2 separate regions of the Homo sapiens genome follow, and region 1 is linked to region 2. The links are contacts of gene promoters, found by promoter capture Hi-C in blood cells and fetal thymus (Javierre and others, 2016). All regions are on one chromosome and are shown on one strand. The core of a region is centred on a gene start or on the middle of the fragment in contact, and the rest is flanking DNA. Distances in the headings are between cores, read along the strand shown. Region 1 overlaps LOC102723529 (a long non-coding RNA gene). Region 2 holds the start of PRELP (proline and arginine rich end leucine rich repeat protein).

The links. The method cuts DNA at HindIII sites, captures the fragments that hold promoters and counts their contacts. A CHiCAGO score of 5 or more calls a contact.
Region 1: a fragment that was not itself captured here is called in contact with the fragment with the promoter of PRELP in region 2 in 2 of 17 cell types (M2 macrophages and M1 macrophages); the score reaches 6.8 in M2 macrophages.

What each region holds. Positions count from the first base shown.
Region 1 is chr1:203,379,203-203,386,039 of GRCh38, forward strand. LOC102723529 (a long non-coding RNA gene) reads left to right here. Exons shown (of 7, transcript XR_922438.3): 5 at 701-868. Among named protein-coding and RNA genes, the nearest start is that of BMNCR, 25 kb to the right of the region's middle. The HindIII fragment of the contact is 4,003 bases long and covers 654-4,656 here.
Region 2 is chr1:203,470,170-203,477,435 of GRCh38, forward strand. PRELP (proline and arginine rich end leucine rich repeat protein) reads left to right here and starts at 5,637. Exons shown (of 3, transcript NM_002725.4): 1 at 5,637-5,769. The HindIII fragment of the contact is 1,499 bases long and covers 4,502-6,000 here.

The sequences.
Region 1 (6,837 bases), core at 1,405-3,904, 94 kb before region 2:
ATCTAGAAAATGACCCTCACATATGCCCGTCTACACACATACATGTATACCTGCATCTGGGTTCACAACAGACCACACCCTAACACATACATACACATACACACCACACTCTAACACATAATGTGAATAAATAGAAACTAGTAAATAGAGCTATTTCTGCAGTGCCCCTGGCATATACTCACATGAAGTGCATGTGCAAAGTACATCTGTGTGTGGTTAATTCACCATCAGATTTTAGGGTAGTAAAGGCAATCACCTATTTTCAGGGCATGTCAGAAATCTAGCTGAATTCCTAAACCTGCTAGATTCCCCATCTCCTTCTTCTGTCCTTGGCCCTCAAGTGAAATGACCTAACTTCAAATGGACTCAGGGGCTGGGGGGTTATTCCAGCTCAGAACAGGAGATCCTTGAACATGGACCCTTGAAAGGGCCCATGGAGGCTAGGCAATGTCTACTATGAAAAGAGAAATAAATAGCTCCACCATTGGAAACAAGTGTCCAGAAAGCTGCAAGTTTATCCTGTACTATAGCCAATGAACAACCAGGTGGTGATCACATCCCCGGGGAAGCGGGGAGGGCGATGCAGGCACACATGGGGTCCTGTTGTAGGAGAGAGACCAGAGGGCAGGAAGGGAGGAAAATCTGAATCCATAAGCTTTCTCTTTATGCAAACCAGACTCATAAGTTTTATTTATTTCAGCTGGAACTCGGAGCACAGCTGCCTTATTTACTTACCTACTGGCTGCATTTCTGAGAACCAGTTTTATTCCTGTTCAAAGGAAGCCAGGCAGAGTTGGGAAAATATTTTCCTAGCCAGCTCCTTAGCACCACTGTCTGAGGGAAACCATCTGGCCAAGATGCCCTTCAAGTGAGTAAATGCAGTATTGCCCTCTCCCTGCACAGGGGAGGGGGCATGCACCAGACAGGGAAAATGGCAGGCTCCTGGGGTGGGCTGAAGCTGTGGTTCTTCCCACTGACCCTCCTGGGCCCCTGGAGTCCAGTGATGTGCTGGTAAAGGTTTAACAATCAGCTGTCTGGGAGGTAGGGGTGGGGCATTGCCTTGCAGTGTTTGCTGATTTCCATGGCCTGTTTGGAACTACCAAAGTGAAGTCACTGAGTGTGGGGTTAGGAGGAGATGCCCAGGAGTACCCCATTTCAGAGTATTTCTACCACGTAGATGCAGTAGGGGGTATGTAACCTCAAGAGTGAAGATACTAATCAATACAGTAAAATAATTAGCAAGTGATGAGTTTTGAGTACTTATTACTTTTATTTTTAATGTGATATAATTTTAAGTTTATATAATTTATTTTCAAATGACATATGCCTTTAACAACTGGCTCTCAGAGTTCTGGAAAATTTCACTGTCAGTTCTTGCAAGGCAGGATGGGCTGGCTCCGGAGCACTGCTGCTGGAGTCCCTCTTTTACTTAGAGTCAGAGAATAAATATGCCAGTGTTAAGATCACTCCCTTTAGAAGCTCAGGGCGTATCATGGGAGATTTAGTGAGGGCTCTACTTCCTTAAGGAGATTTTGTCTTCAGAAGGCAGAATAGACACCTGCTTGGGAAAGAACAGAGGTTGAAAAACACCATGTATGGGTTTTTTTTTTTTTTTTTTTCGGTTCTACCCACCATGTGTACTTGACCAAGACAGCACAGCACACAAGTTGCAGGTTCTGCCTTGCCTGGGCAGCTCCTGACTGTATATGCTTCAGCTTATAGAGTCAAAACAACTTGGCAACATCTAGCTTTATTCCTCCGGGACCCTTGTGCTCTAAGGATAGTTCTCTGGCTGCAGTACCCTGGCATTTTCCAGGTCTCAAGCTCTAGCCTCTTTACCAGTTTAGCAGGATGGTGCTAGTGGGTCTGTGGCCATAAGATTTTCCATTATTTCCTACAGCTTGTCTAGAGGAGTTGGGATATTTCTTGTCTCCCAGAACTCTCTCATGGGAAAAATTCTTACATGAGAGACAGAACACTTTACCCAACTGGAGTCAGGGAAAGTTACACATCTGTCCTGACCTCTGAGCTTCTGAAAAATCACTGAGCTTTATCAAAAGCACACAGGTCCAGAAGTGGAAATTTATAAGACAAAAGAAAATAGGAAATGAAAGTTGGAGGGGAAACCCTCTTAGTGTTGTTGCAATGCCAAGAACTGGGGGAGGGTTTACGGCTCTAGTAGTTTGCTGAAGGATGAACAGGACATGCCAGGGACCAGAGGGTCAGAACAACAGATAATCAGAAATGAAGAGGTCAATGGGTGGGAAAGTAGGAGTGAATGGTGTTGATAGATTTGTTTCTACCATTTTAGGGTTGTTCTGTAATGGCTGCCTATAGTCACAATCACGCCCACAATTCTTCCTACTCATTAAGACCTCTGCTACCCTAGCCCTGAAATTTTCCTTCATCCCCTCCTGTCTTCACTTCCTTCCTAACCCAGTATAGATTCTATGGCCCTTCATAACCACCCCTTTGGGCATGTCCTGGTCTTCCTCCAACATACCTTCCCAGCAAAACCCTAACCTTATGTAGATCCAGCTCTCTGCTCATTCTATACCATTCCAAGAAAGCAAACGTGGCCAGAGGAAAACCGCAACCGTGTGGACTGATTCTACCCTGAATACAAGATGATGCATCTCTAACGAGGCTCAGAACTGCCTGGAAGTCCAGCTACACTTCCCTAGTCAATCCACGCCCTCAATCCCCAGCTACAGTGGACCAACAGCCCTTACTCCTATTGAGGCAGCTCCCCCACCCCCATCCCCACTTAAACATTGGATCGATCCCATCTCCTGTCTACTTGGGACCTTTGGTCCTGCTGATATCCCCTCTCCCTCTTGAAACATCACTTATTTCCTTTCTACTGAATCAAAACTCCAAATTTCTTATGACATTTAAACTTCTCCTCTCTCTCAGCCTTTGTCTGCATCAGGCCAGGAGCTGCAGTGGGGAATAATGGATGGTGATGAACTTCATCTGTTTCCCTGCTGTGTACATCTCCTCCTCCTCCCCTTCTCACTAGGCTGCCTCTTGTCCTCTGGGGCTGCTGCTCTGGGAGAGGGAGGAGATGCAAAGAGCAGGAAAGGTCTTGCTCGGCTGGTACTGTTGTAGGATAGCACAGAATTTTCTGGCCTTGGCAGGTGTTTAAAGCTGACTTTCTTCTCTTGGGTCTTACATAGGTTTCTTACACAGGGGTTGGGCTTCTCTGCTGGCAGCTTCCTTGATACTGACCCTGCCTTTCCTCCAGCTCTCCATTCATCACCCCTCCCTTAGCGCCTATGCATCCTTTAGTCCACACCATACAGACTCTTGTGGGGACCCCATTGTTCCTCCAGGCAGGCTATATGAACAGCATCCCCAGGCCACCATCCCTTGCTGGGCTCTCATCAGCATTTTGGTCCTACTGTCATGGGATTACGGCTACTTCCCAACACAACAGTCTTTACTTGGCTATGCCCAGGCAGATAACCAGCCACAGGTTCTTGCCTTCATTACCTTTGCAGGCGTGGGTCCAGCTCCAGTCGCTTATTTCTATTATGGTCGCCAAGTGGTTCCTGAAAGCCCCAATCACTTGTTTTCATGTGAAGGGCAGGCTTCTTCCTCAGAACATTTCTCCATCTTTCTCCAAGGAAATCAAGTTCTGTCTCTCTCCACTTACTCCCCACTTTCCATCTCAATCTTTAACACCTGTAAGTGCTTGATGTGCTCAGGGTTGTAAAGTGGGTTCTTCAATATCTCAGTTGTGTGTCCCTTGTAGATGGTTTAGCCCTCACTCTGGAATGTGGGCTCATTTTGCACCTATCAGTTTGCGCCAAGCCTTTGGGCTCTCCTTCAAAACTGAGGAAGAAAGAGTTGTGTATTAGCATCTTGTTTCACACATCCCTATCCACCCATGGCTATCTCCACAACCCCCAAATTTGGTTGGCTTCTTCACCAAATACTTCTCTCTAGGAATGCTCCTCCAGCACCCCTGACTCATTGAGCCCAGGCTGGAGTGTAGTGGCGTGATCTTGGCTCACTGCAGCCTCTGCCTCCCGGGTTCAAGCCATTGTCCTGCCTCAGCTTCCTGAGTAGCTGGAATTACAGGTGTGCACCACCACGCCTGGCTAATTTTTGTATTTTTAGTAGAGATGGGGTTTCACCATGTTGGCCTGGCTGGTCTTGAACTCCTGACCTCACACAATCCACCCGCCTCGGCCTCCTAAGTGCTGGAATTACAGGTGTGAGCCACTGTCCCCAGCCCTCTTCCTGACTTTAAAGTTTTCGTTGTAATTTTCTTTTCTTCTCTTCCTCTGTTTTTTTTTTAAATTAATATTTTATTTTATGATTTGTTTATGTAATAGCCAGCATGAAGGGTGGGTGCAGGGATGATGGCAGGAGGAAGAGGCCACACTGCACAGCGGAATGACAGACCTCTCCCTGCTGTCCTCCTGAGCCGCCCTGCAGTCCCACTCAGAGCTTTCTGCAGTAGGCAATCGTCTTGCTTGGGGGAAGCCAGCATCTTTTGAGCATGCTCTCTGCCATCTTTGGTGTAAGGGTTTTACTCTTCATATATGTCATCTTGGTGTTATAAAATCCAGAATGCTTTTCCTCTGAGTATCACGTCCATGTTCTGGAAGATAGAGGACGGGATGGAGTCTGTGTCAGAAAAGCACAAGCTTCCCCCATAAATTCCCAGCACTCTTCTGCTTGTGTTTCATTCACCAGAGCTGTGTGTGCATCCCTAGCTCTAAGGGAGTCTAGGAAAGTGAGAATAATAGAAAACTCCCTAACTTTGTCAAAGCCTTCCATTTTGTTTGTTTTGAGATAATCTCAAATGTATAGTGAAGTTGCAAGTATAGTACAAAAACCTTTATTCCCCCTGAACTGCTGAGAGTAAGTCACCAGCCAATGCCCCAGCACTCCTGAAAAATTTAATGTGTATGTCCTACAAACAATGGATTTGTTTGTAGGACATGCTGCATGTTGCATAGCTGCATAGCTGCAATACAACCATGGGAATCAGGAAATTAACACTGGTATAGTATTGCCTGTTAATCCCTGGAGCCCATTCCTGTTTTGCCATTTGTCCCAAGGATCTCCTTTATAGCAAAAGTATCCAGTTTGGAATTCTGTGTAGCATTTGGTTGCCATGTCTCTTTGGTCTCTTATGTCTGGAACAGTTCCTCAGTCTTTCCTTGACATGACCTTGACAATTTTAGATTAGAGGCCAGTTATTTTATATAATAGATCTCTATTGGTGTGGGTTTGTTTGTTTTCGTGTGATTAGATTCAGGTTTTGCCTCTTTGGAAAGAAGATCACAGGAGTGATCTGGGTTCCCACTGCATCCTAGCAGGTGGAGCTCAATTCCAGTTTGTCCTATTACTGAAGATGTTTGCTTTGATTACTTAAACTGGTGTCTGCTGGGCTTCTCACTGTGACATTTTCCTTTTCCCTTTGTAACTAAAAAGAATCTTGCAGGGCAGTACTTCAAAACTATTCAGATATCCCACTTCTCATCAACCATGGAATTTACTCATTTATTTATTTAGGTTAGTTGAGACCAAGGGTCAGCTGTTTTGTGTAAAGGATCAGATAATAAATATTTTAGGTTTTGTGGTCCAGGGGGCAAAATCAAGGATAGTATATAGGTACTTTTATAATGAGAAATTAAAAATTTTTGCAAAATTGTCACTGATGAAATTAAAACTGTAATAATTATTGAGTAAATTTTTTTAATGCAGGTCTACTAATAAGAGAGGAATTCTTTTGTGAGGGTAAGATTTGACTTAATTTGGGTTCAAAGTGAGTGTTCCCTATTATCAAATTGATTGTAAATGTTCCCCTATAAAAACCATTCTTGGCCAGGTGCAGTGGCTCACGCCTGTGATCCCAGCACTTTGGGAGGCCGAGATGGGGCGGATTGCTTGAGCTCACGAGTTCAAGACAAGCCTGGCCAACATGGTGAAACCCTGTCTCTACTAAAAATACAAAAATTAGCTGGGCGTGGTGGTGCGTGCCTGTAGTGCCAGCTACTCGGGAGGCTGAGGCAGGAGAATCACTTGAACCCAGGAGGTGGAGGTTGCAGTGAGCCGAGATTGCACCACTGCACTCCAGCCTGGCGACAGAGCAAGACACTATCTCAAAAAAAAAAAAAAAAAAAGGGAATTAGCCAGGAGTGTTGGTGCACACCTGTAATCCCAGCTACTCGGGAGGCTGAGGCAGGAGAATTGCTTGAACCTGGGAGGCAGAGGTTGCAGTGAGCCGAGATCGTGCCATTGCACTCCAACCTGGGCAACAAGAGTGAAACTCCATTTCAAAAAAAAAAAAAAAAAAGAAAAAAGAAAAGAAAAGACAAAATGCTTTCTTCTTCAATCTATTCCCCCTGTAAGTAACCAATTTCCCATCCCTGTTGCTGCCCCTGTGCCATGTTGATGGCCCCCTCATCTGGCTTGGGCTCTGATATCCTCCAGTGGGCCACCCTTGTATGTGGACATCTTGTCTCCCCGTGCAGGCTCTGTAAAAGGTGCAAGCCACCCTTTTCCATCCATGTAGATGCCTCAGCATCTCACAGCCCATGACAATCTACTCTCCCCTGTGTGAATGGCCCTGCCCTGCTCAGGCTCTGACTCCCCATCACAAGCCATCCCTCTCTGTGGATGCCAACTTTCCTCTGCCTTACCTAATGGCTTCGGGAAGGGGAAGGTTACTTTTTTTTTTTTTTTTTTTTTTTTTGAGGCAGAGTCTAGCTCTGTCACCCAGGCTGGAGTGCAGTGGTGTGATCTCGGCTCACTGCAACCTCCGCCTCCTGAGTTCAAGAGATTCTCATGCCTCAGCCTCCCGAGTAGCTGGGACTA
Region 2 (7,266 bases), core at 4,387-6,886:
GCTTCATTTTCCATAAGCCTAGGTTCTTGGGGGCTTCTGGGCATAGACACAGTGTCTTGGCCAGAAGAAAGGGGAACATGGAAACTTCTTTCCCCAGAAAATAAAAGGGCCCCTGGCTTTAATGTGCATGTAAAAGGAGTTGAGCTGGAGGAGAATGAGAGCCCTGAGAGAGGGAATCGGGGAGCCTGCCCCTGGCAGAGTGCCAGGCAGCCAGCATGTTTCCAGAGAGGAAAGTTCCTGCAGAAAGTTCTTGTCCCCTACATGTAGCCTAGGAAATGTCAGAGGGCTGCTCGGCCAGAAGGGGCCTGGTGGGATGGAGGGTGTGCCCCACAGCAGCATCAGCCAGGAGCCATGTACGTCCCCTCCCCACAGACACCCTCCATCCCCGTTGGAGCTGCCACTGCATAAACCTGCCTCAAGCTGCTGGGTGGCCCCCCACGGGTACCAAGGACTGAGATGGAGTATTTCACGATCCTGGTGAAATGAGCACTTGGATCCAGAAATTAGAGAAGTGAAATGATAGGATAAAGTTGTGTTTCTGTCACTACTGAGCTGATGGACTGCCTTGAATACCTGAGACATAAAAGGAGAAAACTGAGGCTCAGGAAGGGCTGCGTAGCCCAAGGCCGCCCCGTTAGCATGGAGAGGAGGCAGAGCCAGGCCTGCAACCAAGTTTGTGAGACTCCAACTCCAGCACTGCCTACCTTAAAAATGAGGAGGTCTCCATCCTGGCTAACATGGTGAAACCCCGTCTCTACTAAAAAATACAAAAAATTAGCCAGGCGTGGTGGCGGGCGCCTGTAGTCCCAGCTACTTGGGAGGCTAAGCCGGAGAATGGCGTGAATCCAGGAGGCGGAGCTCGAAGTGAGCCAAGATTGTGCCACTGCACTCTAGCCTGGGCGACAGAGTGAGACTCCATCTCAAAAAAAAAAAAAAAAAAAAAAAAATGAGGAGCCCAGGCCGGTGAGGTGGCTCACTCCTGTAATCCCAGCACTTTGGGAGGCCAAGGGAGGAAGATTACCTGAGGTCAGGAGTTCGAGGCCAAGACCAGCCTGGTCAACATGGTGAAGCCCCTTCTCTACTAAAAATACAAAAATTAGCCGGGTTTGGTGGCGGGCACCTGTAATCCCAGCTACTCGGGAGGCTGAGACAGGAGAATCACTTGAACCCTGGAGACAGAGATTGCAGTGAGCCGAGATTGCACCATTGCACACCAGCCTGGCGACAAGAGGGAGACTCTGTCACAAAAAAAAAAAAAAAAAAAAAAAAGAGGAGCCCAAATGTTCACCAAGAGAGACTGTCAACTAAATAAATATTGGGGGGTGGGGGCAGAGAAAGAATCACCAAAAGGACCAATATGATCATCTTCAAAAGATACCTGTACCACTAAGTGAAAATAAAAGTGCATAGCTGCTTATTTGTTACTAGTGTGTACCTTAAATAAATCTGTGAGGACACAAGAAACTGGCGCACGGTCCTCTGGGGGAAAGTGAGTGATGAGGGGATAGGCAAGGGAAAAGACTTTTTCCCTATGCAAGCTCTTATACCTCTTAGATTTTCAATCAAGAGAATGTATTACCTATTCAAAAAATAATAACCTTTTTTTAAAAAAAGAGGGTGACAGAGAATCTCCTTGTTCAACCCTCTTAAATTCAATGAAACAGACCCCTACTGAGCACCCAGGGTGTGCCAAGCCGTTGGTGGGTGCTGTGGGTTATACCATGATGAACAGGATGCTGTCTCTGCCCAGCAGGGGCCCACTCACCCCAGGCAACCCAGGCCCCCCAGGCTGGAGGGTGGGACAGGCTGCCACAGGACTCACACAGCTTCTCCCCCGTTATGCATTTGCCCAGACCCCACCCACCCTGGACTGGGAGCCTCAACTAGTACAGGGTGAGGGTCCGTCCAGGGCCAGCCTCTGTGGGTCCTGATGACCACTGAGCAGTTTGAGCCAAACTCTTCGGGCCCACACTGCTCCTTCCCGGCAAAGTCTCAGGACCACCACGGGGGAGGTGGGAAGCTTGAGTACCTCCCTCCTGTACTTCTATGGAAAGAGTATTACACAATTGTGTCCTTTCTTCTCTTGCTTTAAGCACTCACTGCTTGTAACCAAGGCAGCAATTACTGTGAGGGTCAAAGAAATGGTAAGCCCCCCAGATGGATTTCGGTCTGGATGGGAAGTGTGGGCAGGTCCCAACTCTGCAAATGCAGCTGAAACCCACCAACTTGGAGAGCCCCCTCCCTCTGCTGCCTGGCCCTCCCTGCATTCTGTCTCCTAACCATGCTGCCCCTAGCCCTCTCCTAGGACCAGGCAGCAGTAGCAGCAACAATGTGCATATCTGGACTTCTCACCATATGCCCCAGCATTCACATCATGTGCCTGTGACTGTTCTCTGGCTACACCAGCAAGAGATAAATACCTCCCCTGGGTTGAAGACACACCACTGGTGTCCCTGAGACTCTAGGAGAGTAGAGGAGGCTCTTCCTGGAGGATCCACATAGTCCCAGGGTGCATGAAGCCAGTGAATCACAAAATACTCCCCTGCCATTGCTGCCAATGATCCTTGTGTTATCTTGGGTATACCCTGGGAGGGAGATGGGGCAGATGAGAAAACCAAGGCTCGTGTGCTGAGACCTACTCACCAGGTAGCTAGAGAACAGCAGAGTTGACATCTTAATCCAGGTTTCCTAACCCCAAACCTTATACTCTCTCTTCACAGTATTGTTGGAAGAGCACTGAGAGGTCATTTGGTACAACCTCGTGTTTTATAAATGGCAAACTGAGGTCAGAGAGGGAGAGAGACATCTTCAAGGTCACACAGCATGCAATGGGGCAAAGCCAGGTCCCAAGAACCTGGACCCCTGTCTACCAGGATGGCGACTGTGTTGAACTGGGAAGTGCTTGTCCTGACTAAAGGTGTTCAAATCCTTTTTTTTTTTTTTAACCAATGCTTCAAAATATACCAGTAGGGTTTGTGGGAGTGGGGAACACAGAAGAAACAAGATTGGCCATGAGTCGGTAATTGTTGAAGCTAGGTATTAGATAATGGGGATATTAATACTATACTGTGTAAATATGTATACGTTTTAAAATTTCCACAAAACTTTTAAAAAATTAACGTGCTGTCAAAAAAAATTAGGTACTCAAGCCATATTAGGTCCACAAGCCACTGATTAGCAAACTCTATTCTGGACACTCCTGAATATCCTGCTGGCCATGTCTATACTTCTTTCCAATTCTCTCTGCATAGCGTGGGATGCGGGAGATAGGAGAGGGAGGAAGGGAGATAACTGGCTTAGGCAGGGCTTGGAAGTTGGCCATCCATTCCCGAGAGCATAGACTCTTGGGATTTGGATGGCTGTCATACAAATGGATACAGGTGACACCCCTGCCCCTGCCCATACTCCACACTCCTTCCAGTCTGTCTATCCCCACAGACACTCTACCCATCATCCCTGTACCTCACTGTACTTTGCTCACCTTATTATTTTTTGAGACAGGGTCTTGCTCTGTGACCCAGGCTGGAGGGCACTGGCGTAATCATAGCTCATTACAGCCTTGGTCTCCTGGCCTCAAATAATCCTCTCACCTCAGTCTCCTAAGTAGCTGGGACTTCAGGTACACACCACCACACCCAGCTAATTTTTAAATTATTTGTACAAACAGGGTCCCCCCATATGGCCCAGGCTGGTCTCGAACTCCTGGGCTCCATTAATCTTCTGCCTTCGTCTCCCATAGTGCTGGGATTACAGACATGAGTCTCCGTGCCCAGCCAGTCTTTTTTGCCCTCTATCATCTACCACCCACCATACCAAGGGAAACAAGCAAATCTGGCGTCTGATGTTCCCGGCCTGCAGAAGACGCCATATCCCATCTGGATGAGAAATGAAGCACATGAGCAGCCTGGCAGAGCCACAGTTAATGTGAACCTGGAGAGGAACCGTGCTGTCTTCCAGCAAGACCTCACCAGCAGGGCGTGAAGCCATGAGATCTGGGGTGGAAGGGGGTTGGAGAAAGGTCTGGGTTTTATTTTTCCTTCTCCTTTTCTTAGGCTAATTACCATTCATCGCAATCCCTTTCCTAAACCCTAATATCTTCCCAGTTTATAAAGTGCTCTCACATTTACAATATTTAATCTTCCCAACCCTGTGAGGTCAATATTATCCATATTTTGTAAATGAGGAAACTGAAGGTCCTCATGATCAAGTGATTCACCTAAGACCATAGCTTGTGGGTGGCTGAGCCCAGGGCTGCAGACCCTAATTTTAATGTTCTCTCCTCTACCCCATATTGCGGAGGGCAGGCAGGCAGTCCCCTGTCATGGGGCTCTGCAGCTCTCCATGGAACCAATAATGGAGAAGAAAATTGCGTTGCATTTTCTAAGTAGTCAGCTGGGATGGCAGGAATTTATTTATTTTATTTACTTATTTATTTTTTGAGACAGAGTCACGCTCTTGTTGCCCAGGCTGGAGTGCAGTGGCACGATCTTGGCTCACTGCAAGCTTTGCCTCCCAGGTTCAAGCAATTCTCCTGCCTCAGCCTCCCTAGTAGCTGGGACTACAGATGCCCGCCACCACACCCAGCTAATTTTTTTGTATTTTTAGTACAGACAGGGTTTCACCATGTTGGCCAGGTTGGCCTCAAACTCCTGACCTCAGGTGATCCGCCTGCCTCTGCCTCCCACAGTACTGGGATTACAGGCGTGAGCCACTGTGCCTGGCCATGGCAGGAAATTTTGATGGGCATCTACTTACCTGCAAGTGTGTTGTGCTTTCTTAATTGAGGGGCATTGTTAGAGGATTGTTAGAGGTAGTGGTGTTACTTGACTGGGTCTTCTGGGGTGTTGATGTGCACAGGGGAAATTTGGATTTCCCATCACTTTGTGTGATGACCACACAGCCCCTAAATCTCACCTAAGTGTGATATGGAGAAGCTGAAAGAAGCCACTACATTGTCCACATGAGCTAGGAACAGTGACTTTAGGTCTTACATTAAATCTTAATTCTGCCTTAACTTTGCTGTGCAACTCAGGCCAGACTTCTCCCTCTCTGGTTCTCAGAACAGCCCTGGCAGCCAAACCGAAGTTATCTCCTATGCCAGCCTGAGACTCCACTCCCTTTGCAACCTCCTGGAGAAGATAACTTAGGGAAAGACTGTCACTGCTCAGAGGAAGCATCCCAAACCCCTCACTGGTTTAGGAATTTAACACTACCGAGCAACGGCCCCAGAAGGCAAGGCGATTGTTAGGAGGAATTAAACAGGCTAGTGCTGGACCCAGCCATCCAGTCCTGGCTTACACAGAGGTTGCTTTTCATGCCTTTTCACTCTGTTAATTTGGCTTGTTTTCCAAACATGGGTCAAACAACCCCTCTCCAGAAGCGGCAGCAGCAGAAGGAAATGTTATTAAAAATGAGTCTGTTAGTGGGAATGGTGTGTGGATGAAGTCTTTGGGAGTTTTGGCTGCCAAATAAAGACTTTATTGTCATTCCTCCTTTCCCAAGCTCCCTCCCTCTCTCCTCCCCTCCCCTCCCTCCCTCCTCCCTCCTCTCCTCCCCTCCCTCCCTATGATCTGCCCCTCCCTCCCCCCAAGCTAACCTCCCCACCCCAATAGGATCTGGTGGAAGAAAAGTCAGGCAAACACAAGCACGCACACACCACTGGGAGATCAGATCTTCTAGCTGGCTCTCTGCTGCCACAGCTCCGCCGAAGGGAGGGGGTGGAAGAGGAGGACTAAACTCAGAGCTGAGAGGAGAGGCAGGTGTGTGCAGGTAAGCCCAGTTGGGAGATGGGCAGGAGACTGGGAAGAATCTTTCATCCAGTAAGTTTCCTCCAGCTCTGTCCATTTATTGATCTAGTCTCTATCCTCTCACTCCTTCCTTCCTCCCACCTCTTTCTCCTCTCAAATGAGTTCAAATTTAGTCTTCCTAACTTCTTTCCTATAGCCTCTTCCTTTTCTTTTCATCACTCTGTACCCCTATATTTGCTTACTGCAAAAGTTAAGCTTTCCTGCTGCAGATGTTTGTTGTAGCACAGAGAGCCACGCTGCACAAAGTGTTTCTACAGATCAGGTGTTTCCATAGAAACTGGACTCCAGAACCCATTTCTTTGCACCTTTTGTGTATTGTCACACATTGTGGAAGTCACACACATCACACGGAGGCTGCACGTTCACTACCATCACCCCACACGACCATACAAAATGAAGACATCCTGTCCATTCACCTCTGCCCTCTGCATCTGACATGCAGAGCTAGACCACATCATCACCAGACACCAGCAGACACACACACACATGCATGCACACATGTTCCCTGCATCTTGTCTCTCGCCCTCTCACACACACCTCCCTAGCTGTAAGAGCAAAGATAAAGTACGTTTTCCCACTGAGATGGCAGAGCCAGAAGAAAATCTTGCATCCCAAGTCCAGGCCGAATAGGGAGGAGATAAGCAAGAGCGGGAGCTGGAAGGGTTTCTTCATTATTTAGGGCTTCACTGGGTAGGAGGGAGAGAAAAACGGCTTTTTCCAACCTGCACAGTGTCTTCTCAGCAGCTTTCAATTTCTGTCTCACTGGTCCAAACCACTTGGCTTTTGGAAAGAAAGAAGAAAGCGACCCAGTTCCCAATCCTTGAAGGTCCTAATTCCCAGCTCTGGGGACAGTTCATTTTTTTATTTTTTTTTCCTGCAGGCAGCCAGAAAAATATTTTTCTTTAAAGCCGTTCTGAAATTATTCCAACCATTTAGGTTGGCAAAAGGTCCTGTGGCAGAGGAGAAAAAAAAAAAAAGGCAGCAGTTCCTTAAGCAGTTGGGGAGGGGAAAACTGAAGGGCGGCCCCTCTCCTGCTCCCCTGCTCATTCCTCTCTATTAATAGAGAGGGTCTGTCCCAAGGCAGGCGGGGTGTAGGGAGATCAGGGGTCCCACACACAGCTGATCTTCACAGTCACCTAAGGGCTGGAGAGGGAGGAGTGTGGAGGGCTTACTAAAAATACAGATGTCGGCTCTCACTGCAGATCTACTGAATCGAGACCCAGGAATCTTGTTTTAATACTTCAGGAGATTCTGATGGTCCACCAGGGCTCGAGAATCAGGGGCCTGAGAGAGAGCTTTGCTGTAATTTTTAAGCCCAAGACTCCGGCAGTGTTAGCTGGGCAGAAGGACTGTGTCCTGGAAAAGGAGCACCAGAGTGTCCCAAATAGGCCACCTCTTTTTTGGGGAGTGGGAGTAAACAGGGAAGAGCTGTCTCCCTCTCTCCTCCTTGCAAGCACAA